Regions from separate parts of the Homo sapiens genome. Here all the other regions are linked to region 3. The links are contacts of gene promoters, found by promoter capture Hi-C in blood cells and fetal thymus (Javierre and others, 2016). All regions are on one chromosome and are shown on one strand. The core of a region is centred on a gene start or on the middle of the fragment in contact, and the rest is flanking DNA. Distances in the headings are between cores, read along the strand shown. Region 1 overlaps PUM2 (pumilio RNA binding family member 2). Region 2 overlaps PUM2 (pumilio RNA binding family member 2). Region 3 holds the start of MATN3 (matrilin 3). Region 4 overlaps PUM2 (pumilio RNA binding family member 2).

What was found. The method cuts DNA at HindIII sites, captures the fragments that hold promoters and counts their contacts. A CHiCAGO score of 5 or more calls a contact.
Region 1: a contact is called between a fragment that was not itself captured here and the fragment with the promoter of MATN3 in region 3, in 1 of 17 cell types (M2 macrophages). The highest score is 5.2, in M2 macrophages.
Region 2: a contact is called between a fragment that was not itself captured here and the fragment with the promoter of MATN3 in region 3, in 1 of 17 cell types (M2 macrophages). The highest score is 5.0, in M2 macrophages.
Region 4: a fragment that was not itself captured here is called in contact with the fragment with the promoter of MATN3 in region 3 in 5 of 17 cell types (M2 macrophages, M1 macrophages, M0 macrophages and 2 more); the score reaches 10.6 in M2 macrophages.

What each region holds. Positions count from the first base shown.
Region 1 is chr2:20,304,697-20,307,396 of GRCh38, forward strand. All of the region lies in intron 7 of PUM2 (pumilio RNA binding family member 2), which reads right to left. Among named protein-coding and RNA genes, the nearest start is that of PUM2, 45 kb to the right of the region's middle. The HindIII fragment of the contact is 2,974 bases long and covers 1-2,700 here.
Region 2 is chr2:20,334,124-20,336,823 of GRCh38, forward strand. The region is part of intron 1 of PUM2 (pumilio RNA binding family member 2); the gene reads right to left. Among named protein-coding and RNA genes, the nearest start is that of PUM2, 15 kb to the right of the region's middle. RefSeq lists an enhancer at 22-81. The HindIII fragment of the contact is 1,234 bases long and covers 786-2,019 here.
Region 3 is chr2:20,011,378-20,014,077 of GRCh38, forward strand. MATN3 (matrilin 3) reads right to left here and starts at 1,291. Exons shown (of 8, transcript NM_002381.5): 1 at 1,032-1,291. The coding sequence starts at 1,254. RefSeq lists an enhancer at 395-1,007. The HindIII fragment of the contact is 3,809 bases long and covers 1-2,700 here.
Region 4 is chr2:20,286,687-20,289,386 of GRCh38, forward strand. The region is part of intron 10 of PUM2 (pumilio RNA binding family member 2); the gene reads right to left. Among named protein-coding and RNA genes, the nearest start is that of PUM2, 63 kb to the right of the region's middle. The HindIII fragment of the contact is 1,134 bases long and covers 686-1,819 here.

The DNA.
Region 1 (2,700 bases), core at 151-2,650, 290 kb after region 3:
AAAATGTGACTAGTTTGAGATCAGCTATATTCAAAGCTGACTTGAGATCAGCTATATTTCAAAAACAATATAAAGAAAAGAATGCAAAAATTCTCATTAGTAAGTTCCATATTGACTACATTTTGCAATATTTTGGATATGAGCTAAATAAAATATTCAAATTAATTTCACCTATTTTTTAATTTTTAAAAATGTGATTACTAAATAACTGCAAATTATATGGTACATATTATACATATTTCTATCGACTAGTCCTTTTCTAAATGAGCTATTGGCCAGCTAAGAGGTGACCAGGCAAATTTGGATAAAAAAGATTGTCAATAATGAATTTGCTTAACTGTGGAATTGAGTTAAAATGTGGGGTCAATTTTGATACACTATGCTTTCTAGGTTTTCAAATTTATTTATATTAGGTTTCTCACACATGAAAGTTCTGCCACATCTTTAAAGATTACGTAAGTCCAATATTATTAAAATACTCTAAGGCATTAAAATAAGAAAGAAATGGCTGGGCGCAGTGGCTCATGTCTATAATCCCAGCACTTTGGGAGGCTGAGTCAGGTGGATTACTTGAGCCCAGGAGTTCGAGACCAGCCTGGACAATAGGGTGAATCCCCGTCTCTACAAAAAATTCACTGGGCATCATGGCTCGAGCCTATAGTCCCAAGCTATGTGGGAGGCTGAGATGAAAGGATTGCTTCAGCCTGGGAAGCTGAGGCTGTACCACTGCACTCCAGTCTGGGTGACAGAGTAAGACCCTGTCTTCGAAAAAAAAAAAAAAAAAAAAAAAAAGACGTATCTAAAATTATTTTTGTGAAGCAAGAATGCTGACACTAAAAAACGTGAAAAAACTGCAGATACACAGAGACTAATTTCATCTAACTATATAGATGCAAAAATCCTAAATGAAATACTAGCAAATTGAAAGAGTATGTTAAAAGAAATAATTATTATATACAAGTCTTTTTTATTCCAAGAATGGGAAGACGATTCAACTATTTTAAAATATCATTCATGAAATCTGATATATGGTACTTGAGTTTTCATAGATAACACTTTAAAGCTACAATGAAAGACAGGAAGAAAGCCATTTACAATAACAAAACATAAAATACATAAAATAAACTTAGAATGAAATATGCAAACCCCTATGAGAAAAATTTTAAAGCACTCAAATGACACTACAGTAAACTTGAACAAAAATAAAGACACATCACACCCTGGACAAGAATACTTGATGTCAGCAGGGCACGGTGGCTCACGCCTGTAATCCCAGCACTTTGGAAGGCCGAGGTGGGTGGATCACTTGAGCTCAGGACCAGCCTGGGCAACATGGTGAAACCCTGTCTCTACAAAAAATTTGCCAGGTGTGGTGGCGTGCACCTGTGGTCCCAGCTACTCGGGAGGCTGCGGCGAGAGGATCACTTGAGCCTGGGAGGCAGCAGTTGCAGTGAGCCAAGACTGCACCACTGCACTCCAGCCTGGGTCAAACAACAAGACCTCCTTGTCAAAGAAACAACAACAAAAACAATAACAACAAAAAAAACCTGATGCTTGATGGCATAAAGATGTCAAATTTCCCTAAGTAAATTACAACATTTAATCCTATCTTCTGGAAGTAGATAAGCTAATTTTGAAGTTCATACAAAAAAGCAAATAAGCAAGAACCAAAAACTTAAAACCCCAAAAAAGAAGAGTAATAGATGTATTAGCCTGCCTAATAATATAAAGCCTCGAGAAATAAAAACCGTTGTGCTGTCCATGAATAGACAGGTAGCAGTACATTTCTAACATAAGAGGACAAACAAGGGATAAAGCGGGTGGGGAAAAAAGGAAAGAGAGGCAAAAAGAGGAAAGAAACGGGGCCAGAGTACATGCTGCGACTGGCACTCACCTATAAATGTGGACTTTTTTTTTTTTTTTTTTTTCTTGAGCGGAGTCTCTCTCTGTCACCCAGGCTGGAGTGCAGTGGTGCAATCTTGCTTCACTGCAGCCTCCGTCTCCCAGGTTCAAGCGATTCTCTGCCTCAGACACCCAAGTAGACGGGATTACAGACCCCCACTGCTAAGCCCAGCTAATTTTTGTAATTTTGTAGAGACGGGGTTTCACCATGTTGGCCAGGATGGTCTCAAACTCCTGACCTCAGGTGATCCACCTGCCTCAGCCTCCCAAAGTGCTGGGATTTCAGGATGGCGCCACTGTGCAGCCTGACATTTTTGATGAAAACAAAAAATAGGCCAGACGCGGTGGCTCACACCTGCAATCCCAGCACTTTGGGAGGCCGAGGGGGGGCTGATCACCTGAGATCCGGAGTTCAAGACCAGCCTGGCCAACATGGTAAAACCCCCGTCTCTACTAAAAATACAAAAATTAGCCAGATGTGGTGGCAGACGCCTGTGATCCCAGCTACTCAGAAGGCTGAGGCAGGAGAATCTCTTGAACCCAGAAGGCGGAGGCTGAAGTGAGCCGAGATTGCCCCACTGTACTCCAGCCTGGGTGAGAGTGAGACTCTCTCTCCAAAATAAACAAACAAAAAAACTGAAAAATAAAAATTAGGGCTTAGGAAGCCTTATTGCACTAACACAGAAGAATATGACATTAAGGAAAGACAACCCCCTTCCATAGACTCTGATGTTGACAGTCTTCATACAAACTTAGACAAAATCAGACAGGCATAAAAATGTTTACACAAATCTACAC
Region 2 (2,700 bases), core at 153-2,652, 320 kb after region 3:
TACATCCTGTTTCTACAAAAAAAATTTTTTTTTAAAAAATTAGCCAGGCATGGTGACATGCACCTGTAGTCCCAGCTACTCAGGAGGCTGAGGTGGGAAGACTGCTTGAGTCTGGGAGGTCAAGACTGCAGTGAGCCATGGTCCGCTCCACTGCACTCCAGATTGGGTGACAAAGCAAGACTCTGTCTCAAAAAAATTTTTTAAATTAAAAATATTATTTCTTCCTGGATATCTGGTTCAATTTCTTACCATATGCCTACATTAAAAACAGGGTGGGGAAAGCATTTGGAGATACAATAAATGGTATTAAAGCACTCTACTGCCACATGGTACTAATCACACTTTTATAATCTTGTAATTATAAATTAACACCATAGTAGAAATTAACCTCTGGGGTCAAAGGGATTAGTGACTGTCTTAGCTATGTAAACGTTCAACATTTAATGAATGAAAAAAACCATATTTTATGAAATGTGAATTCCGATCATAAAATCAATTAGTATCTGGATAGTGACTAAGTATTTACATATCTTCATATATTAACATACAATGCTTATTTTAACATAAGGACAATGAACAAGGCTTTCGCTTAGACTTTTTGTACTGCTGAAGACATTTACCAACACAAAATGACTAATGATTGCAACTTCACACAGGCACTACTTCTCCAAGTCTGTCATCTACAGCCTGGAGACTGTACCTTCCTTTTGCATCAATTACAAAGACAACAAAATTACATAAAAACCTAGTTGAGTCACAAATAAGTCAATACACAGAGTGACTTAAGCTTCTTAGGACATATTCTCCGTAATCATCCTCCTTGGACTGTTTTGTTTTTTTTTGAGACAAGGTCTCACTCTATCACCGAAGCTAGAGTACAGTGGGGCAATCATAGCTCTCTGCATCCTCTCACCTCAGTCTCCGGGAGTATCTGGGACTAAAGGTGCATGCCACCACCCCCAGCAAATTTTTGTATTTTTTGTAGAGACAGGGGTCTCCCTATGTTGCCTAGGCTGGTCTCAAACTCCTGGGCTCAAGCAGCCCTCCTGCCTCAGCCCCTCAAAGTGCTAGGATTAAAGGTGTGAGCCACTGCACCCAGCTGGACTGATTTTAATGAACATAATCATTGAACATCCGTGGTATCTACGGCAAACAAACAAGTGCTGAATTCCTAAAGAATACTTTCTTCTGCTCAGCAAATTAAATCACTTTATTGCAAATCTGCCAACAAACTTTTTTTGTTTAGCAATGCTTTTTCTCATTCACATGACAAAAGTAAATCTAAATCCAGGTTTAGGTATTTATAGGAGACCATTAGCCTTTAAAGATTTAACAAAGTTTCTACTATTCAAACCAACTCTTGGTAATTTCTTATTTTTCTGAGGGCATAAATTGAATCATACAGTTTTTCAGTGACGAACAAGTCACTTAGCTAGTGGGTCAACCAAGAGCTAAATCAACAGTCTGTTTTCTAGTTTGTCCAAATACTTTCATGGGGGAGTTACCTCTGCTGGCTTTACTAGCAAGGCAAAAAAGCTCTATAACAAAGAATAGTATTACTGACTCAATTATAATAAGGAAAAGTAAAGTTTTATGTTTTGAATGAAATTTGGCATAAAAATTAGTGTTGTCAACATACAGACTTACAGAAGCCAAAAATCTCCTTCAAAGACCCTATTAGCTCAAAGCTCAAATCTTTTAATGTTTTATTCCAACCCCATCATTTAGACAAATCTATATATGTGCAAACATAAGATTTTTGTTCCATTAAAATTCTCTGAAAGGGGAATCACCATATATTTGGGTCCTTACAAAAGTTTCTCCTCTTATAAGGCATCCTCTCAACTGACTTATTTGGAGAATCAAAATACTGCTGAAGAAAAGTTGCCTTATTTTGAAAAATATACTACTTAGATAAGATCTACACACTAAACAGCCTCAATCTATGCTGGGTTTTGATGCTTTAGGTATTGTCTGAGAGAAGCAGGTCAAATAATTTAGATGGAAATGAAGATGACAAGCTTTAGAAAACTGTTTACATAACACAAAAAGCGTTTTTTTGTTTTTTTGTTTGTTTTTTTTTGAGGCAGGGTCTCACTATTGCCCAGGATGGAGTGCAGTGGCATTGATTATGGCTCACTACAGCCTTGACCTCCTGGGCTAGTGATCCATCTACTCAGTATCCTAAGGAGCTGGGACTACAAATGCATACCACTATGCCCAACTAATTTTTGTATTTTTTGTAGAGACAGGGTTTTGCCATGTTGCCCAGGCTGGTCTTGAACTCCTGAACTCAAGTGATCTGCACCTTGCCTTGGCCTCCCAAAATGCTAGCATTACAGGAATGAGCCAATGTGCCTGGCCTAAAAAGTGGTTCTAAAGTTAAAGATATAATTTTTTTTTTTTTTAAAGAGACAGGGTCTTGCTCTGTTGCCCAAGATGGAGCACAGTGACGTAATCAGGGTTCACTGCAGCCTTGACCTCCCAGGCTCAAGGGAACCTCCCAACTCCGCCTTCTGAGTAACTGGGACCACAGGTGCCACCAGGCCTGGCTAATTTGTGTGTGTGTGTGTGTGTGTGTGTGTGTGTTACAGACGGGGTCTCACCATGTTGCCCAGGCTGATCTGTGTGTGTGTGTGTGTGTGTGTGTGTGTGTGTGTGTGTGTGTGTGTGTGTGTGGTACAGACGGGGTCTCACCAT
Region 3 (2,700 bases), core at 41-2,540:
TGCCTTAGCAGCAATGCTTTTGCCATTTCAAATCTGCCACTTCAAATACGGGGACTGAGTATTTGAGTCAGGAAAGAGTCCCTTGAGCTCCTTCTCAGCTTATCCAGAAAGATGCAGAAGGGGATAGACAATTGAAATCAGCCTGAGGCATGCAGCGTGGCTGGCCAAATGAGACTGCATACCCAGAAATGGCCTGGCACAGACTCTTTTTAGCAAGACTGAAGCTGCGCTTTTTGGAAATGAAGATACAATCTTATGTAAACCATATTAAGAGGTTGGTAGGCTGGGGCAGTGGAAAGAGACCTTGCTTGGGATTTCGGAGCCCTGAATTTTATTGTGGCCTCTGATACTGATTCACAGAGTCCCTTCAACTTGATATGCCTCAGTTTCCCTTCATGTGCTGTCAGGGGCTGTGTCAGACGACCTGCCCGCTTCGCTGCACTATGAGCTTTGCTCTGCTTCAGGAATCAATTGCTGACCAAAAAGAGAAATAGAATTGTTCGCCAAAGACCCAGAGTGTCTTGATCCTGGGGTATCCTACGGCTCCTCGGATCTCCTCCTGGTCTCACACCCGCATCCCTTACCTTCCAGTCTGAGGCAGCCTGAGGACTGTGGGAGGGGAGGAAAGATCACGCCCTGATATTGGATGGAGATGGAGAGATTCCAAGAGAACTAACAGCAGAGTCTCAGGAAGGGTTTGCTCACTGAATGGAGAGGTCAGGACTGGGACGGAGCTTAGCAGCAGCCGCTGGGCAGCAGCCCCTGCGCTCCCCAGCTGCCCTGTGCTCCTGGCCGAATCACAGGGGAGTGAGAGCTTCAGGAGACCCACATCTCTAGCCTGGACACATGAGTGATATTGGGCATCTCCCTCCCCTTCTCTGGACCTCAGTTTCCCCCACAGGATTCATCCGGGAGGGGCCTCTTTCCCCCGCACCACGGTCGGCCTGAGGCCGGGATGAAGCGCGCTTGGTGGATGCCCTGGGCTTCTCCTCGTTCGATGCTCACGCGTCCCTCCCGCCGCCCGCCTGTACCTGCACCGCGGGCGCGGCCAGGCTCGCTGGTCCCGGAAGCGGGCGCGCCGTCGGGAGCCGCAGGAGAGGGGCGGCGTCCAGGGCTGCCCCCGGGACCTCGGGTCTCCAGCCTCCGGAAGCCCGGGCGGGCCACGGGGTCGGGGGCGGCGGAGGGCAGCAGCAGCAGCGGCCAGAGCAGCAGGAGGAGTCCCGGGAGGCGGCGCGCGGGGGCCGGGCGCGGCATGGTGGGCTCCGTGGGCCTGGTGGTGTCCGTCGGGGGCCAGGAGCCCACGCGAGGCTCGGATTTAAAGGTCCCGCGGCCTCGGGCCCCGCCCCGCCCCGGGGCCTCGAGCGCCAGGCCGGCCCGGCGAACCCCGCCCAAGGCCAACAAGGAGCCTTGTCCGCGCATTCCAGCGGCAGAAACGGAATGTCTGGGCGAGGCGGCCAGCGGCGCGGTGGTCACCTCCCGCCCCTGCCCTAAGCCCCGAGCCGGCTGCAACTGGGTGGGCTCGGCTGCTGTCGCAACCTCCGTCCTCCCAGTAACACCGGGGCAGGGGGGGCAGCCATCCGCGGCTGCAGCCTGCCCGGCCCTCCACTCTCCCTCCCACCCCAGCGGGGCCTGCGCCCCAGGTACGGGATGGGGACCCCTGGGCTCTGCTTTCCCTTCTGCCACTGGTTTGCCCGACTGGGGCTGAAGATGAAACCCTGCTCCTAGCTCTACATTCCTTTCCTCAGCCAAGTAACCCAAGTTTTGCTGTGGGCTCTTGTTTAAAAAAAAAAAAAGAAAGAAAAGGCCTCACAGATTCTAGGGGCATGAATAGAAACGCTTTCATCCGAGCTTCAAATATCCACAAACATTTGAACTTATATTACCGGGAATAGAAAGTCAAACATACATTCCCCAGAGAGCCCCGTTAGCTGGAAGGACAGCCTGTACCAACACAGGCTTCAAAGGCTCTCCCGAGGCCCCATTTCCTCTCCGGAAGAGTTAGCATGGTACAGGGCTGGAGGCTGCCAGGGGACCCCCATGGAACTCACTGTCTGTGAGAAGGAGATTTGCATAAATGTGGTGTCTGTCTACGGGAATGTGGTGGATTTAGGAAAGAGATACTGACTGCCTGCGGAGACCAGGAAGACTTCTAAAACCAGGTGACATTTGAGCTGCGTCTTAAAACAATGGGCGCGAGTTCCAACAGAGCCTATCTGGTCGTCCTATTTCACTATTTTCCCTCTACAAGTGATCCTCCTCACACGATCCTAAACCTCACTTCTCATATTTGTACCCCATGCTGGTAGCAGCATTATACACAATAGCCAAGAGGCGGAAACAACCCAAGTGTCTCTCTTTGTGTGAATGGAAAAGCAAAATGCAGTATCTACGTACAATGGAATACTGTTCAGCCTTAAAAGGGAGGAAATTTTGGCAGATGCTACAAAATGGATGAACCTTGAGAGTATTATGTTAAGTGAAATAAGCTAGTCACAAAAAGACAAATACTGTATGATTCCATTTACATGGGGAATCTAGAGTAGTCAAATTCATAGAGACAGAAAGAATGGTGGTTAACAGGAGCTGAGGGGAAGTGGGGATGGGGAGTTGTATAATGTATCAATGACATTGGGCAGTGATAGTCACACTGAGGGAAAAGGTCACTCAACTCCCACTGAGAACTCACCAATTTAGAAGGAC
Region 4 (2,700 bases), core at 3-2,502, 280 kb after region 3:
ATTCTTTGGTTTTATTCTCTCTCTTTTTTTTAGAGTTTCTGGATAAATGCTTAACTCATTCATTTCCAGCCTAATTTTCTAATGTAATCATTAAAACCTATATATTCTCTATGCTATGTTTTTGTTCTAATCCACAAGTTTAAATATGCAGCATTTTCACTGTAATTCTGTTCAAAAGTTGCTAATTTCCATTCTTTTTGTCTATGGCCATACAACCCTGATCGTGCCTGATCTCATCTGAATTATCTTTTTGCTACTGAGAAAGTCTGTGACTGGTTAGATGAATGTATGAAGAGTGGGAAAAGGAAAAAAAAACGACGTAGGGAAGAATGAAGACAAGACATGGGGAATTGAAAAACAAAAACAAAAAAACATGGTCCTCGTACTCAAGAATTATGCAATCTAGCACAGGAGGAAACACACCCCTTCTTAATTCTAAAATGCCATTTACTTTAACATATGACATAGATCTAACAACTTCCCTTCAGAGAAACAAAACTCTCTAAGACATTTCCCATCTACGACCACATTAAAATAAGAGTTGTAGAATGGTGAAAATAAACCACAAATAGCTAAATGAAATGCAAGGCACACAGAAGTACTAAAAGAAGATGCAAGTAATATACCAAAGAGAGCAGACAAGGGAGTAATTATCAATGAATGAGCACTGGGAAAGATTGAGGAAAGCTTCATGAAAGGGACCATATTAAAAGATGAGAAGGATAGTTAATCACAAAATGTTTATGGGCTGAAATTTTAAAAAGCAAGAACTATATACACCAATTTTGTTTAAAATTTATAAAGGGGTATTTTAAGCTAGAAAAAAAAAGAACATGAGCTAGGACTAGAGGCATAGAAGTGCATGGTATGTTTGGGTAACAGTATATGGTCTAGTGCATTAAAGCACAGGACTATGAAGGAAGTTGAGAGATTTGGTAGGCCCATAATCTCAGCACTTTGGGAGGCCAAGGCAGGAAAATTGCTTGAGGCCAGGAGTTCAAGACCAGTCTCGCAACACAGACACTGTCTCCATAAAAATAAAAATGACCATGAGACAGAATGGTAGAGAATTGGCAAGTTATTGGATGTGGAGGCACAGAAGAAAACCAATAGTTAAAGGTAACTTTGAAGTTGCAGCCAAGAGTTTCTAGTTCTAGAGAAAGTAAAGTGAAACAAGGTAAACAGTAGACAGGAAAATTTGGAAATGTGAGTTCATTTTCTGACATTTTCAATTTGAGGAGTGCCTGCAACATAAAAGTAGAAATGTCTGGTATAAGGACAGACATGTATTAGGTGTTCAGAAAAGAATCCAAGATGCAGATGTAAATTCACAGGGATAATAGTTGAAAGGATTAATGCAAATATACTCTCCTGAGGAATAAGTCTAAAGTATCTCCACTTTTCCTATCTGAAACGAAAATTCAAAAAGGAAAATAACTTGGGCACGGTTAAACAATAGCTATGTGGTGGAAATACAGCAAATCTGACTCTGAAGAAGGCAGCCATTAAGCCAGACTGTCTTTTATATTTAAGGATATACATAGAGGAAGCAGAGACTGATAAAAAAGCAATGAGAGGTGAAAAGGCTATGAGTGAAATACCACTCCGCAGAAAAGAGTTACAAAGAGTTGGACACAGTCAACAGGGTGAACTGCAACAAACTGAGCATAAAAAAAGATACAGAGGAAATTATACTTTGTAACTGTCACTAAGTTATATTAGAGATACTGCAAAGGAATTATAGAGGCAGAATTTAAAAGTTATGGGATAGAGTATAAATTTTGACAAATAGTCCATGAGGGAAGCAGAGCAGAGATAAAGCTTTTTAGGATGAACAGGCAGAATAGCACAGTGGGGTTGAAAGGAAGGATTGGGAGAGGGAAAGACTAAAGATTCAAGACGGAAAAACAATAGCACACAGGATATAAAGCAGAAGAGTTAAGAATAGAACAGTAACTAGGGATCTGATAAAGTACTGAAGAAAGCTAGAAAGAAGAGCTAAAGTATGAGGCCTGAAGGAACATCGATTTTCTCAAGTGAGCCCTTTTTAGTATACACATTAGCTTTATAACTATGTAACTATTTGGATATGGAAAATGAGAATTATTTCATCATCATAGTCTGGGCACAATGAAGTAAAGAAGGCATCAAAGAAAGTTTTAGTGTGAGGGGATCATGTGAACAGCCCAAAAGTCACTGAAACATACAAATACAAATCCTAGTAAGGCCCTTCTTATGAGAGTGGTTTTTTCGTTTGTATTTCTAAAAAGGCTAAAAAGTTGTGGCTCAAAAGATTAAGTAATCCACTTTAAGACATGTTGTGTGGCTGGGCGTGGTGGCTCACATCTGTAATCCCAGCACTTTGGGAGGCCAAGGTGGGTGGATCATGAGGTCAGGAGTTCAAGACCAGCCGGCCAATATGGTGAAGCCCCGTCTCTACTAAAAATACAAAAGAAAAAAAAAAGTTGGGTGTGGTGGCACGTGCCTAAGAAATGAGTAATAGGGCCAGCATCAAGAGCCTAGGAGGATCAATGAGTTACAGGACACAGCAAACACATGCAGGCCAGAGGCACTCTTCTTAATTCCAGGTTCCACAGAGAAACTAGTTAAGCAGGAAAAATTGTTGTACTCCATAACTCCTCTCTCCGTTCTACATATAGCTAAAACCTAAGAAGAACCCAAAATAGTCTCAGTGGCCCT